Regions from separate parts of the Homo sapiens genome. Here regions 1, 3 and 4 are each linked to region 2. Evidence: promoter capture Hi-C in 16 types of primary human blood cells and fetal thymus (Javierre and others, 2016). All regions are on one chromosome and are shown on one strand. The core of a region is centred on a gene start or on the middle of the fragment in contact, and the rest is flanking DNA. Distances in the headings are between cores, read along the strand shown. Region 1 overlaps KCNAB1 (potassium voltage-gated channel subfamily A regulatory beta subunit 1). Region 2 holds the start of SSR3 (signal sequence receptor subunit 3). Region 3 overlaps LEKR1 (leucine, glutamate and lysine rich 1). Region 4 overlaps LEKR1 (leucine, glutamate and lysine rich 1).

What was found. Contacts are between HindIII fragments. The CHiCAGO score rates a contact against its expected background, and 5 or more counts as called.
Region 1: a fragment that was not itself captured here is called in contact with the fragment with the promoter of SSR3 in region 2 in 2 of 17 cell types (total CD8 T cells and total B cells); the score reaches 5.4 in total CD8 T cells.
Region 3: a contact is called between a fragment that was not itself captured here and the fragment with the promoter of SSR3 in region 2, in 1 of 17 cell types (total CD8 T cells). The highest score is 5.2, in total CD8 T cells.
Region 4: a fragment that was not itself captured here is called in contact with the fragment with the promoter of SSR3 in region 2 in 1 of 17 cell types (non-activated CD4 T cells); the score reaches 5.7 in non-activated CD4 T cells.

The regions. Positions count from the first base shown.
Region 1 is chr3:156,165,853-156,169,479 of GRCh38, reverse strand. All of the region lies in intron 1 of KCNAB1 (potassium voltage-gated channel subfamily A regulatory beta subunit 1), which reads right to left. Among named protein-coding and RNA genes, the nearest start is that of KCNAB1, 47 kb to the right of the region's middle. The HindIII fragment of the contact is 274 bases long and covers 1,981-2,254 here.
Region 2 is chr3:156,553,023-156,556,720 of GRCh38, reverse strand. SSR3 (signal sequence receptor subunit 3) reads left to right here and starts at 1,604. Exons shown (of 5, transcript NM_007107.5): 1 at 1,604-1,764; 2 at 2,940-3,066. The coding sequence starts at 1,632. RefSeq lists an enhancer at 1,666-1,745. The HindIII fragment of the contact is 5,682 bases long and covers 1-2,762 here.
Region 3 is chr3:156,837,049-156,840,677 of GRCh38, reverse strand. All of the region lies in intron 2 of LEKR1 (leucine, glutamate and lysine rich 1), which reads right to left. Among named protein-coding and RNA genes, the nearest start is that of LEKR1, 13 kb to the right of the region's middle. The HindIII fragment of the contact is 4,289 bases long and covers 1-3,629 here.
Region 4 is chr3:156,858,605-156,861,996 of GRCh38, reverse strand. All of the region lies in intron 3 of LEKR1 (leucine, glutamate and lysine rich 1), which reads right to left. Among named protein-coding and RNA genes, the nearest start is that of LEKR1, 34 kb to the right of the region's middle. The HindIII fragment of the contact is 3,639 bases long and covers 186-3,392 here.

The DNA.
Region 1 (3,627 bases), core at 868-3,367, 390 kb after region 2:
CCAAAGAGAACAAGAACAAAAACTGTTCTCTCAGTCATTCCTGACTAAATTTCTTGCCCGTTCCTTCCTGAGGAGGGTCCAAACATCACTGTTGAATATAATTAGGCTTAAAATCACCACATAACATTGCATATGGTTTCCATTATATAGATTGAGCTCAAGCATTTCAACTCATTATTTTGCCATTTTCCTAAGGTCTTCAGCATAATAACCCCCGTAGATAAAGATATTGAGACTAAATGAGCTTTATTCGTCATTTGTTGCACTCAAGATTCTAACTGTGAGGGAGAGCTTATCAGGGAAATATTCCTTTAAAAATGTTGCTTTTGGGAACTTATTTATGTCTTAGGATACTATTAGATACAAGTGGATAATACGAAGATTTCTTAAGTGTAAAAAAATCAATTTAACAGTAAATTACAATAATAAATCATATAAAAATATTTCATATGATATAGCATCAGTGTTCATAGAAAATCATCCCTCGCCTTATTTCTACTGGAAAAGAAATTACAGCTGAAAGAACATCTTCATCAGAGTCATGGAGGCAAGAAGTGATTCTTTCAACAAGATTTTTACAGAAATGTGAAAGAAGTAACAGAAGTCCCTGGATGACTAAGAAACTGATCTAAGAACTTTTGTTTATCTGCCTTCCATTTTTCAGTACAAATTTCTTTGGAGCAAATGTCTACATTAGAGATCAAGTTTTTGGTAATTCTGCTGTCCTAAAAAGAAAACATCTCGCTGTTTTCTTGAGCTGATTTCTCAACAGCATCACTAGCTTCATGTGCACGTTGATGTTACAAAAAGCAAATATACTTCAAAAATTCCATTATTCAGTACATTTTGATGTATCCATGTTGTATTGCTTAACATATAATAAGCATCAAATTTATATTCACTTGTTGAATGAATACACAGATTTTTAATAGATATGGTAGGTACTGTGCAAGACTCTGTGAAAAATATTTAGATGAATAAAATAATAATCACCATGTATTAGAGACTCTAAGATATATTTTTTATATTTTCACATTTCTAAACTGGAATGCTTCCTACAGCCTTTTAAATTTTTTAAATTTTAAAACCGTATTCTTATTGTTGTCTCTTTAAATGATAATAGGCAGTGTGTTTCTTTCTTAACAGTACACAAATTACTGGTGTACCATACAATTGATAGTATCTTCGGTTTGATAGATACTTATATGCTGTATAGCTAATAGAGAACATGGTTTTTACACATTCAGGACTTACTTTTTTGGGGGGCGGTTGGGGGTGGGACAGAATCTCACTCTCTTACCCAGGCTGGAGTGCAGTGGCATGATCTCAGCTCACTGTAACCTCTGCATCCCGGGTCCATGCTATCCTCCCACCTCAGTCTCCTAAGTAGCTGGGACTACAGGTGTGCACCACCATAGATGGCTAATTTTGGTATTTTTTGAGGAGACAGAGTTCCACCATGTTGCCCAGGCTGGTCTCTAACTCCTGAGCTTAAGCAATCCATCCACCTCAGCCTCCCAAGGTGCTAGGATTATAGGCATGAGCCACCATGCCCAGCCAGGACTTCCAAACATATAAGAAAGTATAGAGAGCATTCTGTCCAACCCCTCTCATTTAATAGATATCAAAAATGAGATCCTAAGAGGCTGTGCCCCAAATAACTCAGCTGCTCCATGGAAATGCTAGAACTAAAGCACAGTTTTTCTGACTCTTGGCTGAATATCCCACACCATATCACCTTATACTACAAAAATCTTATAATTCAATCTCAATCTCCACTTATTTTTGTTGTTGTTGTTGTTGTTGTTAAAAAGTTTGTTGAAACTGGCTGTTTTGTTTTCAATAAACATCATATTTTATACATGTCAATGAGTTTTTCTTCAAAGTAAGCACCTTTAAAAATGATATTTTTATTCTATTGATGTTGTCATAGCACAAAACACCCTTGGGGTTTGTTTTAGGTCATCTTCAGAGAAAGCTTATTGGTTAAAAAAGAAACCCAATGTTCTTGCTTAAAACAGTAGCACTGTTGCTTCCCAGAGGTTATTTCAGAAATTTCCAGAAGTGATTTGATCGTAACAATAACTGTATTGCCACTGTCATGTAGTGGGTGTGGCTTGGGGACCAGCTCATGCCTCATAACTGTAGATGGAATCTCCTCCTTTTCCATTCCCTACTCCTTCAGCCCTTGCAAAAAGTCTCACACGCCACCGTCTGATAGACATGCCAGCCCACACATCCACACCCTCAAGCTTGGCCACCTGTGGTCTGGGGCATTGTCCACTCTTAGAGGAAGAGATCTAAAGAGGCTGTGTAAGTCATTCAGTGAGGGAATACCAGGATTCTGGGTATGTGGACATGGTGGTGCAGAAAGGGGATGCAGATAGCTGGGCACATCCCTGGGGTCCCATGGACTCTGTCTTGTTGGAGCCAGAGTAGGGTGCTGGACTTCTAGAGCAGCACTGGTCAGGAATGGAGACTTGTTGCCCTTCAGGGACAGTCTAGCACAACCAAGAGGTGCCCATGTCCAGGATGACTTCCAATGTCCTGCCACACTAAACCGCCATAAACATCAACCGGTTCCTACAAATCCTAAAAAGCCTTCGCAGAACGTTACATGAAAAGCTCAATCATCTAGGAGAATTTTATTAGAAGGGGAGATGCTTAAATGGAATACAATCCCTTATCATAAAATTGTTGACCAATTTATTCACTCCATACATTCTACCAATTCCATTAGACATTTAGCTGAAACAGTCTGTACAATAGTGCAATTACCACAAAAGCAAAGAGAATGTTTGCAAACAGCTAGCAAATGAAATCTGGAAATGCTTTAAAAGATGTAAACCCATAAAAGAAGCACTGGGATCTTGCTGATATTCATGAATAAGGACTGTTTTAAAGTACACCATATATTGCCTATCTGTGTGTGTGTGTGTGTGTGTGTGTATATATGTATTTTTTAAATTTGTCTAGCACAATGATAAAAATAACATGTTTACATTTGTTTTGGGATTGCGCATTCATTCTTAATTTGTTAGTATCTCTCTAGTGCTACTACACAGTTTCTTTATAGCTCCTTATATTACTGTTTGTTTTCAAATGCATCCTCTGCTCCCCTGTTCCTTTTCAAAGATAAGATTTCTAGACCCTTTTTATGTATTAAAAACTGAGTGTGTGCCTCCACAGACCTTGGAACTTTCAGAAAAGAGAGATGTGCTGCCTCATCTCTGCCTCATGCCCATGGCATGACACTGATAATTGTTTTCAACACTACACTTAACAGTAAAGCACAGCATATCATCTGAGACATTAGTCTTTCTCCTTACTTCTGCTGTGTATCGTGGCATATTACTTTCCCTTAAGTAAGGCCATTTCTCTCTTTCTCTTGTAATATACAAATGTTCGCTGAACATCTGAATATGGAAAAAATGAGGGGCCCAAGCTCCAGCCAGAAATCAGGTGATTCACACACCCCAGTTCCCAACATCGCAAAAGGCTTTCTTTTGCACATGAGCACAGCCTTAGAATCCCTTACACACCTTCCAGGAACTACTCTGTGATCCAACAAGAAGGCAGAGATGCCCTTGTGAGAACACAGTAAACAAGTCCCCAATTCAAGGAGAT
Region 2 (3,698 bases), core at 355-2,854:
CACCGCACCCAGCCTCTGATTTTTATCTTTTATCTTCTTTTTATATCCTTAGTTTGTTTATAAATAGGCAGAAGAAAATCTAGTTATAGAGACAGATCCAAAAAGTTTTATTTATGAATTGGTCATAGATGGAGAAGGAAAAAAATAATTAGTGTTGAAACCCACTATTTTAACCAGAACAACAAATGAGTTTAAAAGAATGCAACTTAGTGAGATAGGAAAAACTGGGGGAGGAGTATGTGTAAGAGAAAATAATAATTTCTTCTTCTATCACTACCATGTAATAAAATAAAGAGCATTTTTAACATCAAAAAAGACATAAACCCAGATATTTTTAAATGAATACTTTTGATTTTCTGAAAAATTCACTAGATGGTCTTTTTTTCTTTTTCATTTTGTGGTGAATTAATGAAAACTTCTGGCATTAAGGAACACTTGCGGTAGATAATGGAAGGATTTATATTTCAGGAAAACTCACTCTGGTACCTGTATAGAGAATAGACTGGAAAAGATTGAAGACAAAAGCCCAATTAGGACTAGTAATAGGAAGCTGTGGAGGTAGATTACAATTTGGATACTGTGAGGAAGAAAGATATCTACCAAACGGTTAATAAGGAGGCTGGAGGTTGAGGAAATTGTGCCTAATGCACTAGAGTGTTCTCAGTAATCAAAAGTAGCATTTGCTGGGAGTGATGTGGTTGAATTTTTTTTTGAAGAAAAAATGATAATGTGTTGAGTTAAAAATGGAATCTAGCTGTTTTAATAGACATACTTAATCCTTCTGAGCTTCAGAGAGGGAGTCTTGCCTAGCCAACCTGTTCTTAGTATTATGTTTTATTTAGCATGGCTTTGGAAGCCACAAAACTCTATAGGTCTAGTTGAAATAAAATAAAATAGTAGTAACTTGTATCAGACATATATTAAATATTGCCTTCATCAATGAGATCATGAGTTTCTTAAAAGCAAGAGTCCCATTTTCTTCTTCCTACAGAGGTGGCCTATTGTTTAGTGAAAAGAGCCCACGCCTTGGAGACCCACACCGCAGGTCTACGACCCTCAGGCTCTTCAGCTGCAATGGCGGTAATGATGCGCACGTCATAAGATTCTTCAAGGTATTTAATGAAATAAAGGATGTGTAAAGGAGAAGGGATTTTACATGAGTTAGCTATACCTTTCTCTTCTTTCTTCTTCAACGTACTCAGTCCTGGGTACGCACAGAGGGCACTAATGGCGTGGGGCCAGAAGAGCTTTTAATTTTGGAATTCTGAAGAACTGAGAACTCGTGAGTCTGTCAGCAGCTCTGAAGTGGAATATCAATAAAGTTTTGTTAATTTTTTTTAAAGCACCGACTAAACTACAAATCCCTTCTCTCTCCTCCAGGTGGGTGGGTCACGTGGCTTGTCAGGAATCCGGAAGTCTGGCCCGCTCGCCCAATCACGCCCGGAAGCCTATCTAGTGGCGCCAAGCTGGCCAATCCTGGGGACGCTTGCTCTTCGCCAAACCGGGTCCCGCCTCCGCGCGCCGCGCTGACGGGTCGTTAGCGGATACGGCGGCCGCAGGGGCGGAGTCAAGGGCCTTTGCCCGCCTTGGCGGCCGGCTCTACGTTCCCTGTTCTCGCCTGCAGCTCCGCCATGGCTCCTAAAGGCAGCTCCAAACAGCAGTCTGAGGAGGACCTGCTCCTGCAGGATTTCAGCCGCAATCTCTCGGCCAAGTCCTCCGCGCTCTTCTTCGGAAACGCGTTCATCGTGTCTGCCATCCCCATCTGTGAGTGCTGGGAGCGAGGCGGGTTAGGCAGGCCGCCGGCTAGTCGGGCTGGGCGGGGACGTGGCAGGACCCGGCGAGCAGGGAAGGCGTGGGTGCCGGCCGGGGGTCGGCAATCTCTCCAGCTCCCCTGAGCTCGGGGAGGCACGGAGCCTCTTCTTTGGGCACAGTGTTGTCGCTTGGGATTGTCCTGTGCAGCACTCGGGGAGGTCACTTGTTAAAAGTACGCACGTTCCCGAGCTCCACCCCAGGAGAAGGTGGTTAACTAGTTCTGGGGTGGCGGCCCCGAATCTCTATTTAAACAGACAAACTCAAGCATACTGCCTCTGCCCTTTTCTATACAACTGTTGCTTGCCGTTACGAAATTTTAAACTTATTACTTATTTTGCATAAATTAGTTAGGTGAGAAACCCATGAAGTGACCCACTGAATTATAAGTGCATCTTTACGTGAGCTACTTCACACCATTGCATAATTTTCCTGGTTTTTGCAAAAAGAGAGAGGTTGAAGTGCCAGGGGTTAGGGATCTACCTTATTTATACTTTTTAATAATCCTACTGGACCAATTCTAGAATTCTCACTTGGTTGGGAAACTGCAGACTTGGACAAGGTCGTTTTTAGTAGAGCTCAAGTTTCCAGAACTCCTGTCTTTTGCTGCACTGTTGTTGGGCATTTAAAACTAAATGTATTTTTCTCTTTTGTCCTTATACAACCCAGCGTGCCATTAACGTGATGTGAAGCCATATGATGGCTCACTAATTGGACATAGCACTGCTTGGAGTTCTGATAACAGCCACGTCAGCAAGGAAACTATGGTTTGGGGCTGCACGTGGCATTTTGGAATGGCCTGTGTTTCGCATGCTAGTACCCTGATGAATGAAATTTGAAGTCTGACTTGTGATTACGTTGAGCCAGAGTTTGTTCTCATTTTAGAAGTTGAAATCTCATCTGGACTAGTAATAGGAAGGTGATGTTTTTCAAATGTTCTGAACTGGAAAGCTTGAGACTATACTGTTACTGGTTATCTCGCTTCTGAAGATCCTCAGATACTATTGGATTGCATAACTAATAACCTGGTATTTTACCAGGCTTAGCTATAATTAATTTCGCAGGCTTTTGTTGCGGGGTTGTAATGTTTTGCTTCTTTTTGTACCCTTCCCCCTTTTATTTTAATTCAGGGTTATACTGGCGAATATGGCATATGGATCTTATTCAGTCTGCTGTTTTGTATAGTGTGATGACCCTAGTAAGCACATATTTGGTAGCCTTTGCATACAAGAATGTGAAATTTGTTCTCAAGCACAAGTAAGTATGTTTTTCAAGTGAAAGTACGTACTACATGTTATATTTTTATATGTCTTCTTAAAGATCATTTGTGTGTGTTGGTTTTAATAAGCATTAATTTGAGATATATATATTAATAAACATTTTGGGGGAAAGGAACATTGATGCTAGGAAGAATTATTAACTAACTGAAGTAGAGACAATGATCATTCTGACACGGCTACAGAAGCAGATTTTGAGGGTGGAATTAGAACACTTAAACACAGGCCTTAATATGAGGTTCATCAGAGAAACAAACCCACCAAGTAAGTTAACATTTCAGAAGCTAAATGTAATTCCTTATGGAGAGAATTGTTCTGGGCTCTTCACGTACTATTTTTGGAAGTTAAAGAAATGATCTTTTTGTCATTATTATTTTTTGAGACAAGGTCTAGTTCTTGCCCAGTCTGCAGTGCAGTGGCATGATTATGGTTCACTGCAGCCTCAACCTTCCCAGGCTCAAGGGATCCTCCCACCTCAGCCTCCCAAGTAGCTGGGCCTACAGGTGCAGGCTACCATGCCCAGCTAATTTTTTTGTAGAGACAGGCCATGTTGACCAGGCTGGTCTTTTTATTTTATTGCTTTTTTTTTTTTTTAACTCTCTGTCATTTTCA
Region 3 (3,629 bases), core at 320-2,819, 280 kb before region 2:
CAGTAAGCATCAAGTTAAATCGATGGCATGGTTAATGCTAACAGGCAGCCCAAAGGTACATGCACAATGGACAAAAGCATATCTGAGAGCTGACTGCAAATTTTAATCAAAATGTAACAGATTAGTTGTTAATTAAGAGTTAACTAGATTTACTGAAAAACCCGAAAGATTGATGATAAAGTTTGAGGTTATAACTCACAATTTAAGTCAATCTTTTTCAAAGAGATTTTTAAAAATATACTATTAACAATGTATGGATTGCAAGCTAAATATGGGGAAAATGCCTTGTCCTGGGTACAGATGTGAACTAACAGGGAAGAGAACAGCATAAAAACTAAAGAACTGCGTGTTAATTAGATTAAATGAGTTGATATATAGTTGACCTTTGAACAACATGGACATTAGGGGTGCGAACCTCCCCTCCACATAGTTGAAAATCCATGTACAACTTCTGACTCCCCAAAAACTTAACTACTAATAGCCTACTGTTGACAGGAAGCCTTGCTGATAATATAAACATTCAATTAATGCATATTTTATAAAGTAAGCTAGAGAAAAGAAAATGTTAAGAAAATCATCATAAGAAAGAGGAAATATATTTAATCTTCATTAAGTGGATCATCAAAAATGTCTTCATCCTCATGTTCACATTGAGCAGGCTGAGGAGGAAGAGGAAGAGGAGGGGTTGGTGTTGCTGTCTCAGGGATGACACAGGTGGAGAAAGTGGAAGGGGAGGCAAAAAAGACAGGCACGCTTGGAGTAACTTTGAGGAAATATGTCATAACTTCTGTCGAACTTTTTTGCTTTTTCATTTCTCTAAAAATGTTTCTATATAGTGCCAATCCTTCTTCCAACGTTTGCTTTAGTTTCAGCGCCCATATCATAGGAAGGTTCATGTTGTAAAAGAAGTGAGAAGCAGTCTCGAATAATTGAAACCCTTCTGCCATATTATCTAGCATCAATTTGTTTTCTAGCACTGCCTCTACTATGTCTTCTTTCTCATTGTCTGCACTGATTCAGAAAAAAAAATCATCTCCAAGTTGTCCTCTGCTAATTCCTCTTGTGTGATGTCTGTTAGCTCCTGAATTTCTCCAAGATTAGTATCTTGAAACCCTTCACCCTCTGACCTTTTTTGCCATATCCACAATCTCTTTTATAATTTCCTTTATTGGCTCCATTGTAAATCCTTTGAAGTCATGCACAACGTCTGGACAGTTTTCTCTAGAAGGAATTTCTTGTTCCAGGCCTGATGACTTTCACAGCTTTTTCTATAAGAATGATGGCATCTTCAATGGTGTAATCTTTCAAGGTTTTGGTAATGTTCTGTCAGGGTTCTCTTCCATAGCATTGACAGTCCTTTCCATAGACTACTGTTGAGGTACTTCCTGACTTCAGAGACAAAGCATTGATGGACTCAGTCTAGAAAAAGCAATCTCCTTGTCCAAGCCTTTGTGTTGTACAACCAAAAGACTAACACCTGATGTTTATCTTTTCCCATCAAGGCTAGAGATTAGCAGTTTTATAGATAAGGGCAGTCCTGATCATAAACCTGACTACATTTGCACAAAACAACAGATTTGGCCTATCCCTTCCTTCCTTAAATCCTGGTGCTCACGTCTCCTCCTTACTAATGCATTTTGTGTCCTTTTTTTTTCCAGAATAGGGCACTTTTGTTTGTGTTAAAAACCTGTTTAGGAGATTGATTTGAGTAATAACTCCATCTCCTCTGTGGCATGGCCATCCTCGTTTCCATTAAACTCTTTCTCTACTGCAATGGCTTGGTCTCAGTGGCTTGATTTCATCTGTGTGGGAGGAAGAACCCATCGGGCTATTATAAGTTTGGGGGTCTGTCTGGGATCTGCCTTTGTGGGTGCCTGCCTGCAGTTTGTCAGCCCCCCACCAGTATGTTGGAATTGGAGGTGAGCTCTGGCAGCTGCTTATTTCTCTGGAACTGAAGGCCATGTCTGGTGCTGTCCTTGCCCAGTGAGGCCCTGCTGACCCACAGTGCTTGGGCCTAATTGCAGTGGAGAAAGACATCCTTCCTAGAAAGACATCTTTAAACTGGTCTGCTGAGTATTCTAAGCACGGTCAGAACCTTCTTCCTTCTCCCAGTTGGTTTGGCTCCACTGGGGTTCTTGGTTCTGCTCCTTCAAGTGTCTTGGTTTGGCTCCTTTGGGGGTATTAGCTGGCTCTCCCAAAATAGTAGGAAGACTCTGGGTTTGGGGAGATGTCTCCCCAGTTAGAGAATAAGAGGTTAGTTCAGAAGAATTACTCCTGGAAATTTTTGGTTAGGAATCCTGGTTTGGAAGGCCTTTTTGTTTGTCTTTATCTCATTGTGCGTATTTGTATATATGGAGAGAATTCCCTGAAAGAATTGCTGATGAAAGCCCAGGAGACTGTACTAGTTTGTCTGGTTGGTCACATTCTGTGAGCCATGAACAAAGTTCAACAGGTCTAACTCAGGGTGACTATCCACTCTTCCATGTTGCTTAAAGATCACCTGTTGAAACTCCTGGTTGGAGAACACCCCACCCCACTTTGAGTGGATCAAAGACAACACGGGCCAACAGAGGCAAGTTTAAGCCTTGCCAGGTCAATACTTGGATGCTAAGCGGGGTGACTGGTGTCTGTGTTTTGTCATGTGTATTTTCCTCTGCCTGGAATAAAAAACGTCATTTTGGATCCCCCATGTAGCCTGGCTACATCTTGCAAAATGAGGTTTTTGACTATGATTCCATGAAACAGAAAGAGATGATTTTCTTTTGTAATGCAGCATGGCCCCCACAGCTATGGTACAGCAAGCAGCATCACCAAAGCTGCTGAGAGATAAGGAACCTGGAAAGCTAGCATGCCGGCAAAAGGGTAAGAATTTCCTACCAGCCAGGCTTCTGGCCCCTTTCTGCGCAAACTGATGGTAAAAATCACTGTCTCCTTTGCAAAGTCTGATTAATGGGAAAAAGGATTTGTGTGATTAGTCTGAGGCTGTAGCAAATCTAGTGCACTTTGTGCTATGAATATTCACATTGTTTCACTCCTTTCCTCTCAGTTTTTATCTTTATGTGTCTTCTGTCATGGAGAGGGGCACCGTAGGATAGAACAAGGGCCTAGGATCCCTATAAGCCCAATGCTCAAGCTGGCCCTGTGGGCTGGTCAGTTACAAACTTTGCTGCACGTCCCTGAAACAAAAACTGGACGAGATTTCCTTCTCATCTTGTTTTACGTCCTTGGGAGCTTGACTCTGTTGACCATGTGGAGGTACACTCTCAGTCTCCACCATCCAAAGGGCAGGAATTTTTCAGTTCATGTCAGTATGAGAGGACCGGGTGTCTGAGATGAGTCAGCACACTCTTCATCCCAAATGTGTCATGCCTTTGGGTGAGTCTTGTCTTAAAAGATCCCATTTCTACAGGGCTCTTGTCATCTTTTGTTATCTTAAGCCCATTACAGAGAGTGAATTCTTGGGGACGATGGAGATATCTCCTCTATCCCCTCTCTAAGAATACCTCTTGCTTATATGATAAAATCCTGGAACATTAACATCTGGGCTTGTAAAAGACTCAGATTAAGTCACTACTGAAACTGAGTATACCATTTTTTTTAAAAGGAATTTTAGAAATCTTTTATTCTCC
Region 4 (3,392 bases), core at 756-3,255, 300 kb before region 2:
TAAAAACCCCTGTCAACTTCTATTTACTGTTTGCACATGTTCATGGAGAGAAGAAATAAAAGAAAATAGTATGTTCTATACCTAAGGACTTTGGTCTGGAGCACAATCTAGTGTTGGTGTGGGAGAAAAATGAAAAGATAATAAAAAGATTAGCTGATCTTAGATCTACATGTTATAAATAAGCTTGTTTAGGTTCCTCAAAGTTCAAGTAATGCATAGCACAAACATCAATGTAATAAATTCATACTTACACATCTAGACAAAAAAAGTGATATGAACTTCTAGATTTAAAATTATTTTTTAATGGCCCTGTGTCTACTGGAGCCATTTTTCAATGGCCTGAAAATGAATGTTTTTCCACAATGGTACTCAACGTTTTTTCCCTGCCTTTCCCATGTTCCTATGCCCAAGCAGACTTCCATCAGTAACAGTCCTCATTTTACTGTAGGAATTCTTACCACACCCCAAAATGGGCAAATCAGAATCTCAAGAGAGATGTGAGGGATTGAAAAGGCCCCAGAGATTGAAAATAGTTCCCTAGGAAGTAGGCCCCATCCCATAAGAACTACAGTTCTGCATCAGTTCTTTGTTCTATCAAATCTTGATTATTCAAAATTAAGTTGTCCCAATCATTTTTAGCATAAATGCCCTTTACACTACTTCCATAAACACCAAAAAGTGCTGCAAAAGTACAAAAAGCAGAAGCCTGGATGAGACATGTATAAAAGATAAGACCTTTTATAAAGGGAGTTGTTGATGTATTTATTTTCTCAAGATACTATTTTTCTTCCTCTCAGTGAATGAAATTAAGCATACACATTATACTCTGGAGAAAAATCTAATGGCCCAGTGAGGCAGGCCCTGATAGTGTCTGTTTCCTTTTCTTCCTTACAACAGTACCTGATATTGTTTCAGGAAGCAACAAGCCAACACCCTGCAGCCAATGCCTCAGACTCCTCTGCAGTCATGACCAATAGCACATAAGGTGAAACTTTCTGAAAAAGTTTTTGATCTCCTAATATAAGCATTTCCCCTGACTGCTTCCCCCTTCATATTCCTGCCTAGAAATTAAACATGATATCTGGTGATACAGAAGCCATGATGAAATCATAAGACCAGTATAAGGCTAAAAGCCTACTTACTGAGCAAGACAGAATGAGAGATAGAAAGGGATTGAGTTCCTGGTGACATCACTAAGCTGCCCATACCCTTTCTTCTTCCTTCAAGAAATAAACCTTTGTCCATTTAAGCCACTTACTATAGATTGTATTCCTAACTGATCCAGCCAGTCTAGGTTGGAGGTAGGTAGGTTTAGCAAGGAAGGAAAATGACTAACAAAAGCTGCCTTGTTTGCCCCATCACCCTCTACTCCAGCCAGGTACACTTATTTCCTCCAATTCTCTCCATTTGTAAATTCAGACACACTCTCTGCATTAATTTGGTCTCAAACTGTAGACTCAGTCTGGATCTCTGGACCTTTGGTACCTACCTTAGGTAGCCCTATCCTTGGGCTGACTGCTCTAAACTGACTTATCTGGCTCACCTAACATGAGATAATTGCCAACCGAACTCTTAAGTGCTGTCCCTCATAAACAAGCCTACATTACTGTGGATTAACTCTCCACATGACAGTCTCAATTTGGCATAAGCGGAGGAGAAACTGAAGAGGAAATGTTTAACAGCCACTTAGAGATGCATTTTATTGTGTAACTACTGACTTCTGTAATCTACTGATATTTGTGAGAATTTAACCAATTACCTTCTTTAGAAATATTCTAAGTTACTCAAAATAATATTTAATTTGACTAAAAAACCAACCCAAGATTTCCACCAAGATGGAGTAGTCCCATTGTTCCCAGATCCTCCTTACAACTGAAACACCCCGAACATAACATAAGCAGCATAGAAAGACTCTGAAAAGTGGAAAGAAGGCAGATGGCCTAGGGACCTTCGGACTTGATAAATACCAAGGCAATAAAATCCATGAGTTTTCTTATTGACTCTCATATATCCCAGACAAGGTGCTGTCGAAGTCTCCAACCCAGAACCACCAACAGCCATAGACAAAAAAGAGCTCCAAGAAAAATTTAATCCACCTAGCTGAGTAGGGGAAGGGTGACTGAATGACAGAAAGTATTCTTGGCAGTACTTGCCGTACTCCAGCCAAACACCAACAGTATAGATCAGTGGTTGCTAAGTGTTAACGGGGAAGGAGGATGCATAAGTAGAACACAGAGTATTTTTAGGGTAGTGAAACTGTTCTGTATGAATGAAACTATTCTGTATTAATGAAACTATTCTGTATTCTGCAATGGTGGATAATGTCTTTATACATTTGTCAAACCCCTTAGAATGTATAATACCAAGAGTAAAACGTAATGTAAACTATATATTTGGGATGATGATGATGTGTCAATGTAGCTTTATCAACTATAACAAATGTATCATTGTGGTGTGAAGAGGAGGCTGTGTGAGTGTGGGGACTGTGTTATATGAAAACTTTCTGATCCACTCAATTTTGCTGTGAACTTAAAACTGCTCTAAAAAATAAAGTTTATTAATTTGTTAAAAAGTCAGTATAAAACGTTGTGAAGTGTAAAGATACAAACTATAATTTTTTTAATCCAGTGTTAGAAAAATTTAAGGTCAAGAAGGATATTCTATATCAGCAAAACATATAAAATCTAAAAAGATGGTTTTATATACCCCCATGAACTTAATTTTGACATAGACAGAAACTGATAAATCCATATTCATTTTGAAGGACTTCAATATTCCCTTATCATTTTTCAAGTGAAACTGACAAAACTAAGTACAAATATATGTAATTTGAATACTGCAATTAACCAGTGTAATTTAATGGATCTATTACAAAGTTATATCCATTAAAAGGAGACTATGTACACTTTTGAGTAACTACAGAATATTTCCAAAACTTATTGTTTATTAAACTCTTAATACGGTCTCCCAAATAGGTTATATTCTCTTCAACCTGGAATAAAAATAGACATAGATAAAAGGATAGTCAAAAAACAACCTATCCATTTAGAAATTTAAAAACATTCCTCCAAGTATTTCTTGGATTAAAAAGCAAATAAAAACTAAACTTCATCTTATTTAGAAGTAAATGAAAATAAAATACTATTATCAAAAAGTTTGTTGTTGCCAAAGACTGTTGCCACAGGAAAACTTAATAGCTTTAAATTTATTTATTAGAAAAAGAGACTGAAAATAAATTAACCAAAGACTTCAACTCAAGTAAGTAGAAAGAAAACTAAACATTAAAGAAAGGATAGAAAACAGATTTTTTTTTTTTTTTTTTGAGACAGGGTCTCGCTCTGCCATCCAGGCTGGAATGTAGTGGCATGATTCTCGGCTCACTGCAGCCTCCA